Linked DNA regions of Homo sapiens: regions 1 and 3 are each linked to region 2. The links are contacts of gene promoters, found by promoter capture Hi-C in human tissues and cell types (Jung and others, 2019). All regions are on one chromosome and are shown on one strand. The core of a region is centred on a gene start or on the middle of the fragment in contact, and the rest is flanking DNA. Distances in the headings are between cores, read along the strand shown.

Evidence for each region. Contacts are between HindIII fragments. The study calls those that stand out against the background at their distance.
Region 1: a fragment that was not itself captured here is called in contact with the fragment with the promoter of HOXD1 in region 2 in 2 of the 25 tissues and cell types used here (H1 embryonic stem cells and hippocampus).
Region 3: a fragment that was not itself captured here is called in contact with the fragment with the promoter of HOXD1 in region 2 in 2 of the 25 tissues and cell types used here (hippocampus and mesendoderm cells).

Annotation. Positions count from the first base shown.
Region 1 is chr2:176,326,791-176,330,981 of GRCh38, reverse strand. It overlaps MTX2 (metaxin 2), which reads right to left. Exons shown (of 10, transcript NM_006554.5): 5 at 4,081-4,157; 6 at 2,597-2,689; 7 at 2,070-2,108; 8 at 1,556-1,681; 9 at 322-398. Among named protein-coding and RNA genes, the nearest start is that of MTX2, 59 kb to the right of the region's middle. The HindIII fragment of the contact is 3,873 bases long and covers 927-4,191 here.
Region 2 is chr2:176,186,764-176,191,018 of GRCh38, reverse strand. It overlaps HOXD1 (homeobox D1), which reads right to left and starts at 2,351. Exons shown (of 2, transcript NM_024501.3): 1 at 1,566-2,351; 2 at 112-1,211. The coding sequence starts at 2,217. The coding sequence ends at 877. It overlaps HAGLR (HOXD antisense growth-associated long non-coding RNA), which reads left to right and starts at 2,061. Exons shown (of 3, transcript NR_033979.2): 1 at 2,061-2,205. It overlaps MIR7704 (microRNA 7704), which reads right to left and starts at 2,176; the gene lies at 2,118-2,176. The HindIII fragment of the contact is 12,505 bases long and covers 1-4,255 here.
Region 3 is chr2:176,363,412-176,367,069 of GRCh38, reverse strand. No RefSeq gene overlaps it. Among named protein-coding and RNA genes, the nearest start is that of MTX2, 96 kb to the right of the region's middle. The HindIII fragment of the contact is 4,605 bases long and covers 1-3,658 here.

The DNA.
Region 1 (4,191 bases), core at 1,614-4,113, 140 kb before region 2:
AGTACAAGTTTAGAATTTTGTTAAGATTTTGTAGTTCCATGTATAGCACCTTGAACTACCTCATTAAAACCTTATCATACAATGATTGATTTACATGACTGCCTTTAAGAGAAATTCTTAATGATAAGGACCATATTTTAGAAATCTTAGTCTCCTAGAGCCTAGCACTGTGCCTGAGAGTAAAGTGCCACAAAAATATTTGAGTACAAAAATTATAAAAATAGCTAAATATTTTCTTGAAAAAGCAATTCTTTTATGAAAAAAAGAAATTTGCAACCTAACAGTACAGAAAATTAACTTTAAAAAAGTAAAATTTCTTACTGCTTATTGAAGAAATACGGTTGTGTTCCCAGTCTTTGAGAGAGAGCTTGACAGCACTGGTCTACATCCTCTAAGACCTAACACAGGCAATGAACCCCAAGGAAAAGTATTTCAATTAGCAAAACAATAAAAAGTATCTAAAACGTAACTTGTATCACAGTTTATAACAAAAATATAAATTTAAGTTAACCTTTTATAATATATTTTAATAAGACCATAGACCACATATATATATAATACTTTCTATATAAGAAATACTTATAAGAAATACTTTCTATATAAGAAATACTTATAAGAAATACTTTCTATATAAGTATATATATATAATACTTTGTATACAAGAAATAGGAAGAAATTCTCAGTGAATGTCCTTCAAAATACAAGTACATTTAAGTTACTTATAAGGATTTTGTCAAGAACAAAAGTGTCTTCCTGAATCCATATATTCAAATGGCTTTGCATATACCAAAAAATCTGCTTAATAAAGGTAACAACATTGACCCACTATGAGTAAAAGCATTTGAGTTATTTTCCCACTAGTGGAGATAGATTTTTATTTATTCTATCCCTATTCATTTACTGAAACCCCCTTGTAGCCAATGGCACACATCAGTGAGATGGCTGGCTAGTATTAAGGGTAGCCTTGGAAAAGACGGGCATTAATTAACTTAATGATGCTTGTGGACAAGATAAGTATTTTTAAGTTTTGCTACTTTAGTAGCAAAAATATAGATAGACAGATAGATAGACAGATAGACAGATAGATAGACAGACAGACGGACAAAGTACTGTATTTAACAGGGCTTTTTTTTTAAGCCCTGATGCTGCAGATCTATATTTAGTTACATAAAAGGTGCCCACAATGTATTGTTCAATTAAAAAAAAAAAAAAACCCTCAGGTTATACAGTAGCAGGCATAATGATCCCATTTGAGAAAATGTTACTAAGAAACATCTAGAAGAAGGCTCTCCAAATAGTTAAGGGTGGTATTTTCTAGGTGATGAGATTTCAGGCAAGTTTTATTGCTTTTTTACACATATCTGCATTGCATTGTTTGCTTTACATCAAGCATGTATGATTTTTTAGAAATAAAATTACTTCATGTTAGTGAAAATCACAGGAAATGGTTTTCTTGCAAATCTTATATATATTTTTTTAAAGGAGTATCAATATAAAGAATGATTCTTTTAATGCATAAAAGTTGAGGGTTTTGTCAACTTCAACCTGAACTGACCTGGTCCAGAGTCTTCTTTCCCCATCCAATAGCTTTCATCTTACGTTTGACTTCCCACTGTTTTTGATAGGCCAAAATATGATTCAGAGGCCAAGGGTAAGGAGATCCATACCTAGCATGAGTGATCTAAAGTAAAAAGATTTTGTAAAAAAGGTGATCCTTCCTAAAAACAATGCCCGTTTTTACAAATAGAATTCTAAAAGAAATATATTTTCAGAGAACATAAATAGAGCAATCTGAAAAAAATACACATCCTGCAATCTAAAAAATTAAAATTTTAAGCCATTCCCTTTAAAAATATATAAACTTTTATGTACTTTGCAACCCGTTATATCAAACAATGACACATAGCTTCCCTAAAATGTTATGTGCAAGCAAAATTAAAGTAAGTGAAAAACTATATCACTAATGGTATAAACCACAATGTTTCATTTATGAGCAGGGACTTGCGATTCTGAGCAAAAGTGTTTTCTCATTAAATTTTAATTAAGATAAATGTTACAGAACCACTCACCTCCCCTACTGTAGCTTCATCACACCACTGAAGATACAGCTAGGAACAAAAGAACAGTCACTAAACTTTAGAATACCAAAGAGGAAAAGGATAAAGAAAGTTATTTTTTGCCAAGGCAATTTTTTATAAGCTAATTTCATAAGTCACACATGTAGCGGTTTGTTTTTCTTAGCTGCTATCCACAAAAATGTAATGATGGTACGTTATAAAAATATTTTTTATTCACACAATACATGTCTAAATACCATTAAAGTGTTTTACAGATATTATTTAAGCAAATTTCAAAAGGCCAAAGTAAAATAATGAGTAGGCAAGAATCACTCCTTTTTATAAACAGAAAAACTAGAACTGAAAATGTCAGGTAACTTGTTCAAAGGTAATAATCAAATAATTTAGGTAGCCAACTCAACTCTAGAATTACTTGACTATTTTCCCATTTCTCAATAACTTTAACCCATAAGAAAGATTATATTTTATGAGAATGAGAGAAAAAGCTTATTTTCAAGCCGTATCATCTAGTATTTTACCTCTGCAGTCAACAGCATATTGTTGACTAATTCCATGTAAGCTTTCATTTCTGCTTTTTGGACTTCCTCCAGCCCATCACTAAGAGAATGGCCCTAAAGGGAATTTAAAAAAATTTAAAAGAACATCATATTAAATATACAAAAACTTTCAGTTATCTCACTAACAAATAACGTAACATGCAACTATACAATGAATTAAACGTCCAAAATGCCCCCTAAAAATTATTTTATATAAAAGCATAAATAATACTCTGCTATCACTACAAAATATTAGTATGTACTTACTTGTCATTATACAAATGTATCTTTCAATAGAGAAAATTACACTATCAACTACTTCACAAAAGAAGAAAACAGAATGGTCAGCAAACCTTGTTTAAGAGATTAACCTTATTTAGAAATAAAGGAAATGCCAAAAGACTGACATGTGCTGTTTATAAAGTGGTCAAAGATGAAAAAAATACGTTTGTAAAGATATGGGGGGAGAAACCCACTTATTTTAAAATTCTAATACTCTATAGTTACTAGGAGATACATAAAATGATATAACCTTTAGTTCAATCTGGCAATCTATTACAAGATTTAAAAAGTACATAACCTATGACATCCTAATACCACTCTCAGGAATTTATCCTAAGGTACCAATACCAACCTTAGGAATTTATACAAAGATGTATATATAAGAAAATTTATCTTAGTACTCTATAAAAACAAAAAATTGGCCATGACCTAAAAGCCCAACAATAAACTTGAGTAAATAAAATTCTAATTTATCCAATACAGGGGGAGGGTGTTGAAGAAAAAAAAAATAATATATATATATATTTTGGAGATATATATATATCTCCAATACAGCAGAATACAACAATGTGAAAGGATGATATATACCTACAGCTATTAATATGGAAGAATTTCCAAACATATTTATGATTTTAAAAGGTATGTTGCAAAATAATACACACTAGTATGATCTAGGTTTTTCTATATATTCAAAAAGTCTGGAATGATTTTTCAGAAACACTAATGGGAGTTGTTCCTTAATAACTATTAAAATCTAAACTGAATAAATGAAAAGCAGAATCATTCAAATGGATAAATACATTCAACTTCAAACAAATCCTGTATCTCCCTTTTCAAAGGTCAGCCAGACACTTCAAAACCTAATAGTTTTTCATTTATGACCACAGTTGTAGTAAGCATAAGTTAGAAAATTATCTACCATTTTGTAAAGATCAAACCATCTCTTTAGACTAGATATTAAAATTACATACCTTTAATAAATTTGACATTAATAGAGGAAAAAAAGCTACCTCTTTTGCCATTATATCATGAAAAAATACTAACTTACACTTCAGAAATATTTTCCAGTAGTTTGCATTGGCATTTTATAAAACTAGGTTGAAATCAATGTAAATGTTAAGACACATTAAAGAATGATGAATGACTTGGTAACTGATCAAATACATTTAATATCTTTTTATTACCTTGGCTTTAACAAATTGGACTATTGGACCAAGTTCTGATACTACTTGATTTCCCACATGAATAAAAGGTACTTTACCTGTTGAGAGAAAAAAAAAGTATTTATAAAAATA
Region 2 (4,255 bases), core at 1,102-3,601:
TCAACATAAACAAATTCTCATAGCAGAATCAAGAAAATTCAAATACAGGAAACTGAATCAACTTTAAAGAAAGAGAATCATTATTAAAGAGTGTAAGAAAAGCAGAGAGCAGCAGATTCTATAATTTTTATTACAAAAAAAACCCTTTACATGCTATGACATTAAATGTCACTTATAAGGTCATTGCAAGCAAATCTTTTTAAAAAATATACATACTGTATATATTTACATTCAAGTTTGAATAATATTTGTCAAGATATAGTTCAGATTCTACTCTTTACCCATTCTGTGGATTTGTTCATCTAGTAACTAAACAGCGATTGTATCATCACTCAGGCACATAGAGAGGTAGAAACCGCTTTTTTAAAGAAAAAAAAACTGGAGTGCAAATGTGAAGATCACTGAAGCAGCTTAGCTACATCAAGGAGACCCTAACTAGCTTTGGTCATCTCAAAAAGCTGAATATATGTAGCCTTGTCCTTTAAATTAAAACCAGAAAAACTTTGGGCAGGTGCTCTTCTGAGCACATCAGAGTGCTGACAGAACTCAGCAACTAATGGTCTGCCACTCTGCAACGCGAATTGCACATGACTAAGTGAGGCAAAGATAGCAGCGGAGCTGGGCTGGCAGCTGGGCACCTTTTCCCTGATAAGACACAAATCATAACCAAACAAGTGGCTTACAAGACAGTCAATTAATATCTGGACATATAGTCTGGAACTCGGAAGCCAACTAAAGTACTTCATTTCCCAAGTGAAATCCCTATTCATTTTTGTTCTCCCACCTCCATCCCAAACTGAGCTCCTAAGTCTAGATAGGGATGGGGGTCGCCTGGGACTTCTGCAGGCCACAGTTTTTCGGCCCCAAGTACCGGCCTCACGAAGGCTCTTGGGACTGAGAAGGGCTGCCGGGGTTCTTGATAAACTTAGTGGGGGTTGTTCCAGAGAGGGGAAGTTGGAGGGGAGCCACAGGAATGGCCGTGGCCAGAAGCCCTTCTCGTTCCCTTTTCTTCTGTTTCATCCTGCGGTTCTGGAACCAGATTTTGACTTGCGTGTCATTCAGGTGCAAGCAGTTGGCTATCTCGATGCGCCGGGCTCGAGTTAAGTACTTATTGAAATGAAACTCTTTTTCCAGTTCTGTCAGTTGCTTGGTGCTGAAATTCGTGCGGATCGCGCTGGAGGGGCTAGCGGCCCCATACTCGGCGAGTTTGCCTGCAACGTAAAGACAGGGCGTCAGCCAGGCCTGAGGCCGGGGACAGAATGTGGGTGAGCAGTGGAGCTAGTTAGAATCAAAGTCCCAGCGCAGCCCTCCTGGGTCCCTAGGAACAGAATTTGTACCAGGAGAAGTTCCACGGAGAGCTCCTTCCTGAAATTTTCTCAATGCCTGGCACATTTTCCGAATCTGTACTCGAGGCAGACTCCATGGAATTCGCCCGGGAACGCGTCTCCTCCACAAAACCCAAACCGCTGTCTGGAAAGGCAGCGACACCACGCTCCCAGCGCATTTCCGCGGGGGAGGCTCCGTCCCCAACCCCAGGTGGCCCCATCCAAGGCCCGCGGACTTACCTTTCTTAGAGGCATTCCTCTTCACTTTCATCCACTCGAACGTGCTGAAGGCGGCAGGGAGGCCGGAGGCGGGAGAGACGGACTTGGGGTAGGTGCCTGGGGCCGGGGATGCGGTCTGGAAAGCACCAGGGTGGCCGTCGGCTGACGCTTTGAGACAAGCCGGAAAAGGGCCGGGTTCGCCGAAGGCCGCGTAATCCACCTGGCCGCTGAGGAGGAAAGAGCCGCCGCCCGAGAAGACGGCCGAGGTGGCGTAGTGGACGTGAGACCCGCCGTCGTCGGCCGCCCGCCCCAGCACGCCCGGGAAGTCGTACGCCGGCCCGGACCCCAGGAAGCCGTAGTCCGCGCCCCCAGCTGCCGCGGCAGGTGCGGCACCAGGTTCGTAGGCCCCCTCCAGGGTGCACTGCGCGTACTGGGGCGCGGCCGGAGGCGGTACGGACGGCCGCGCGGGGGCGGCCGGGGGCGAAGGCGAGGGTCGGGCGGCGGCCAGGGGCAGACAGCTGACGAAGGCGCCGTCGCCGTTGCCCAGAGGGAAGGCGGGCTGCAGAGCCACGGGCCGGGCGTCGGAGCGGCAGAACTTGGGTGCCAAGCTGAGCACGTCGCCGCCGACCCCGCCGCTGCTGCTGCATGACACGTACTCCAGGTAGGAGCTCATGGTTCGGGCCCCACCTTTCTGAGGGCGCAGGCCGGGGCCGGAGTACGGAGCCGGGCAGAGGCTGAGCAGGACTGCCGCCGTCTGCGCCGCTCCGCCAGCCCTCTCTACCCGAGCTGCCCTCTCCAACCCATGGCGAGTGAGCCGGAGGTAAATAGTGGCCTAATATACCGGCGGGGGCGGCCACGTGGCGCTGGCCGGCCAATGGGCGGCCTCTCCGCTCGGCCCGGTCGGCGCGCCGCTCCTCGCGCCTGCCCCGCAGCCAAGTTAGCCAAAGCAGCCCAGGGCCGCCGCCCAGCGCCCCCGAGCCCCGAGGAGAGCCGTCGCGACCGGGGGCTGCCTGGGCAAGGGCGGGGCGAGAGGGCAGAACGCCTGCTCTCGGACAGGTATTGGGCGAGGTGGGGGGAGAAAGGCAGGACTGGACGCTTGGGTGAGGGCCCGTGGATGCAGCGGGGCGAGCCGCTTCTGCTCTGGATCGTGGGGGGGGCTAGTCCCTCGAGGGCGGAGTGTGGGCGTCGCGGCATGGAAAAGGTTAAATGGGAGCGTGACGCGCGGCCGGTGGAGACTGCTCTTCGCCCACCTCCAGGACAGATAAAGTTATTCCTCTTCCCCTCTTCTGAGTCCTCTGCGCTTTCGGTTTGCTTGGCGCTGATGTTATCCCTCTTCTAAACCTAGAGCAGATGTTTGGTTTTTTCCTTTCTTCCCCCTTTCCTAGGACTCATGGAACTACATCTTATGCTGTGAGTGCTGTGTGCCTAGGGCGGGACAAAATTTTCACTTTTTGACTAGGCTTCCTTTTAACGTGACTTTGCAGCTTTCTTCTATCCCTCGCAATTTGTGGCGGCGTGATGAGGGCCAGTGTTGTAGTGCCAGATTTTGATAAAGTTTCTGCCTTGTGGGGTGGTTTAGCAGATTTTCCCCTCCGGCTGGGTTGTTGGAATAAAGAATCCAGAGTGGTGGTGGAACACTCCTTATGCTCCTTTCTGGGAGACTGGCACAGGCACCGGTGCGGCGCTTGCTTTCACTGAGGAGCTTGTCTGGAGGGCGCAAGGGCTTACCGGGGACGGGTGAGATCTCAGAGGTTTAGATGGACTTGTACCTCGAAGCAATTAGAGCTTCTGCTCCATCAGATAAGTGCTGCATCGTCTCTTGTGAGTGAAATCTGAGGGCTCACAATGTTAATGGGCTCACGTCTTTCCCTTGATAATATGGTTTTGTTTACTGAGTGTAGAGAGACGGGAAATAAAAGTGCAATTGCCACAGGAAATGAAGAGTAGAAAGGTTACAAAGACCAGCTTTACATTGACAAACTTTCCAACTTCCTTTAGTATTTCTTTTAATGTTCCCTTTTGAGGGGACTGTAGGAAAATTACAAATTAGATAAATAGAGGTTATTTACACACAGTAGTTATGAAAGAGGGTGGTTTCCTAAAACCCTGTGTGAATAAAGACTCTAAAGAGTCTACTCAGAGCTTATATCAAGTGCCCTTGAAAAGTTAATCTATTACAGCCTCTAAGTTATGGTAACCGAGGTTTTATCATTGTTTTACTGATTGACTTGTCATAAAAGAGCGATTGAGCTGTTGTTGCCTAAATTTCCACTCTGAGGAAGTCTTTAGAATAGGCGCCATCACAGCCCAGGGAGCCAGTTCCTTCCAGGGTTGTGGACTTGTGAATAAACAAAGCCCTACCAAAATGTGGACTACTGATGGACCCGAAGTTGCTGCAGGATGGGGGAGGGATGTCCCCAGGTTGAGGGGAGCCAGTAGAGGGTGGATGCCTAGGAATCAGCACAAAGTTAAAGAGGTCTGTGGTTCCTGCACTGCTGGAGTTCTTGAGTTTGATTGGAAATGGAATACCTGTGCTGAAAATAGCCCTTCAATCTTGATTTTGCTATTTCAGTTGTGCTATAGCCAGTCAGATAAGGTCCTAAATAATTTTTATTTATTTATTTATTTAATTTTTTTTTTTAAGTGCAGTGGCGCGATCTCGGCTCACTGCAAGCTCAGCCTCCCCGATTCACGCCATTCTTCTGCCTCGG
Region 3 (3,658 bases), core at 788-3,287, 180 kb before region 2:
TATTTTCTGATTAGGTGTATACAGAAATGATGCTCACTAACTCCTATTAGAAAACCACTTGAAACAGAAATGTCTTATTAATCAATAGTAATTATTAAAGATATTATGAAGATTTGACAGCATACTAAATTAAAAGAATATAGACCTATGCTTTGTTTTTTCCTTTATACATATACATACATAAATATAAATCACCTTAAGATAATTTCTAGCATAGCATAAATATATTTAGCATTTTTAATTCAGGATAATTCCCTTTTCCTATTTTTTGAAAATACAATCACAAATTTTTTCCCAAGCCTTTGTATACTTACTGAAATGCATCTTCTGAAAAGTTAATCATACTAATCCTGGCTTGTTTGCATTTATTCAGTCGTTAGCACACTTTCAAAGTTCTAGTAATATCAATATACCTAGAATAACTCTTTAGATAGCATTCCCTTGTCTACCTTCTTGAACATAAAAAGTATGTTATATAATAGCTGTTTTAACATCTTTGTCTACTAATCTGTGTCATCTGTGTCATTTCTGGGTCTATTTCTACTGATTGATTTTTCTCTTCCTGCTTTTTGCACACCTGATAATGTTATCTTGGGTCGCAGACATTGTGAATTTTACATTAATGGGTGCTGGAGATTTTTGTGTTCCTTAACTGTTTTAAGGCCTTGTTCTGGAATGCAGTCTTGGAATTAATTCTATTGATTGATTGATTGATTGAGACAGAGTCTCACTCTGTTGCCCAGGCTGGAGTGCAGTGGCACCAGCCGTCTTAGCTCACTGCAACTTCTCCCTCCTGGGTTCAAGCAATTCTCCTGTCTCATCCTCCAGAGTAGGTGGGACTACATGCATGCACCACCATGCCTGGCTAATTTTTGTATTTTTAGTAGAGACAAGGTTTCACCATGTTGATTTTGATGCTTGCTTTTAAGCTTTGTTAGGTAGGTCTAGACAACCATTAGTCTAGGTCTAATTGGGCCCCAATACTGAAGGAATACCGTTCTGAGAACTTCAATGCCACATGTATTAGATGGTCTTCTCACTCTAAGGAGAATACAAACTATTTTCAGCCTTCTCTGAACTCTAAGGCTTGCTTGGCTTGCTCTTTTCCAATAGTTCTTTCCCAGCCTTAGTGAAGTTTCTTCATAAGCATGTGATGATCAATACTCAGTTGAAGACTAGAACCTTATACAGATCTCCAGAGTTCTCTCTCTTTATGCAGTTATCTTCTCTTCAGTACTCTGCTTTGTGAATTCTAGCTACTGTGGCCTTCTTGGCCTGGAATTCTTGTATTCTCAACTCAGGGAGACTGCTGGGCTCTGCTTGGGTTCTCCTCTTTCCTGTGAGGCAGCCTAGAAATGCCTTCTAAGCAGAAGCTGGGTAATTGAATGGCTTATTTTGTTTCTTTTCATGCAGGCATCACTGTTCTAAACTGACTATTGTTTCATGTCTTAAACCATTGTTTTATATATTTGGTCTGATTTCTACAATTGTTTAAGGCAGGAGGATACATCCAGTCCTTGTTCCTCTCCATCATGACTAGAAGTAGAAGTTCTTGGATAGCATTGTGAAAGACAAAAATTGCTCTAAGTGTCAGAGTGAAAATGAGCTTTTCTTATTCAGAATTGCCAAAGAACAAAAAAAAATAGAAATGAAAATTTACCCTCTCTAAAACAAGCCCTTTGGCAATAGTATCCAATTCAAAGTAGAAAAAGAAAAATACATTGACTCTTTAGAGTAAAAAGTTTAATTTATATACATATGAGAAGGTAATTCAACAAATTAAAGGTAACCTACCTGTCCTATTTCAAAATTACTTTAAATTCTTAGAAGTCACTAAAAACATTGTTTCAATAGCCAGAAATATTTTCTGATGTAAAACGTAAGTTATTTCTTCATTTCTATTTGGTAACAAAACAAAAAATAGCATGACTGCAACACAAATCTGTGCACAGATTTGTCTCAAAAAGAGAGAGAAAGAAAGAAAGGAATGAAATAAACAGAAAAATTGGCCTGAGCAAGCTGGGACTTTTCTTCTTACATGCCCCACTTTGTATTGGTAAGACCAGATAATGAGTAGCACTTTTTCTTTGTAACAATTCATTAATCAGAGAAATGATCCTTGCTAGTGTTTAGATGTTTTACTTAATTTGGTACCTCTGGCCTGCTGCCCCACTCGTGCCAAAATTATTATTTCTCACCCAGCAGGTGATAAATAACAACTTCAGTTGTGATTAATACCATGAATCCTTCAACCTGATGAATGCAAAAAAACTTGAGACCTACAGGACAAGTGGGTGATAATTGTTGTGAGAACTGTTGAAGCTCTGCTCAGCTTGTGAGGGGAGAAATCCACAGGAAATGAAGCATTTGCTAGCAGTCCAACTGATCCTAAGAGGCTTCATTAATCCCATCTCAGCAACATTCGCCATCTGAATACCAGTGCTAGCTTTTCTCCCTCCCAATACTAAGTTTTAAATATCTTCAGAGAAAAGAAATCATGAACTCATTTTTGCATGCATTTAAATATTTATTGAATGGATGAATAAATGAATAATAAATAAGAAAACAGAATTTTCGCCCATGTACTAGACATTATAATGTGGGTCATTTGAGAGCTGCATATGGTTATCTCTTGTCATTTCTCTAATAAAGCAATTGTGCACAAGTGTAGTTTTGCTAAAATCCATAGCAAAATTAACATTCTCTGCTGGCAAAAAGAAAACTGTTAGCAATGGCCAGTAACTAAAGCCACATGGTGCCATCAACTTGATCATTATTATTTAGCTCTAGATACCAACATAGTATACCAGTGGTCCTCAATTAGGCAGATGGTAAAGGGACTGCGTGTTATTTGAAAAAGCTTCCCAAGATATTTCTTGACTCCTCATTGAGAAACTGCTTTAAATGGTGGTATATATTTTAAGTCACAAGTCAATGGATGCATAATGATGGTCAACCAGTTGAATATTGCCTACAGACATTTTGGTTTGGCAGGCAGGTTGTTTTAATTCTTTTACTTTAATGCCTTAAGGTACAGGGATGCATTATCCACTTTGGCACAGCCCCTGCTATGCCTTTTGTCTAATAACTAGTCGGTCTCATTCTATTCATTACATATGTGGCTTCTGAACTGAGTTTGTGATCCCTGGCTGAATGGAGAGGTACTAAACAATAACAACCAAAAAAACCAAAAAAGTAAAAAAATAACTTAGCTTGCAATGTTTATCTTATATAAATTTCAGGGAACAGAAGAAAGTGTCACCCAATTCATTTCTTTAAATCAACTTTATTATGGTATAATTACATACAATAAAATGAAGTTTGGTGAATTTTGACAAATGTGTACATCTTATAAACATCAAAACCAATATATAGAATTCTTCCATTACCCCCCCAAGTGCCTTATACATTCAATACAAAAAGAAAACCAACAACAACAAAAATCTGACCTCAGATAACCCTTGATCTGCTGTCATTATAGATTAACTTTGTGTATTGTAAAATTTATATATGCATAGAGAATGTACTTTCATGTCTGCCCTCTTACCTGCAGCATATGTAATGGTTTAGGGATTCACCCAGACTGTTGCAAGTAACAGTTGTTCGTTACTTTTTTTACTGAGTAGTGTCCTATTGTTTAAAGGTACCATAATTTATC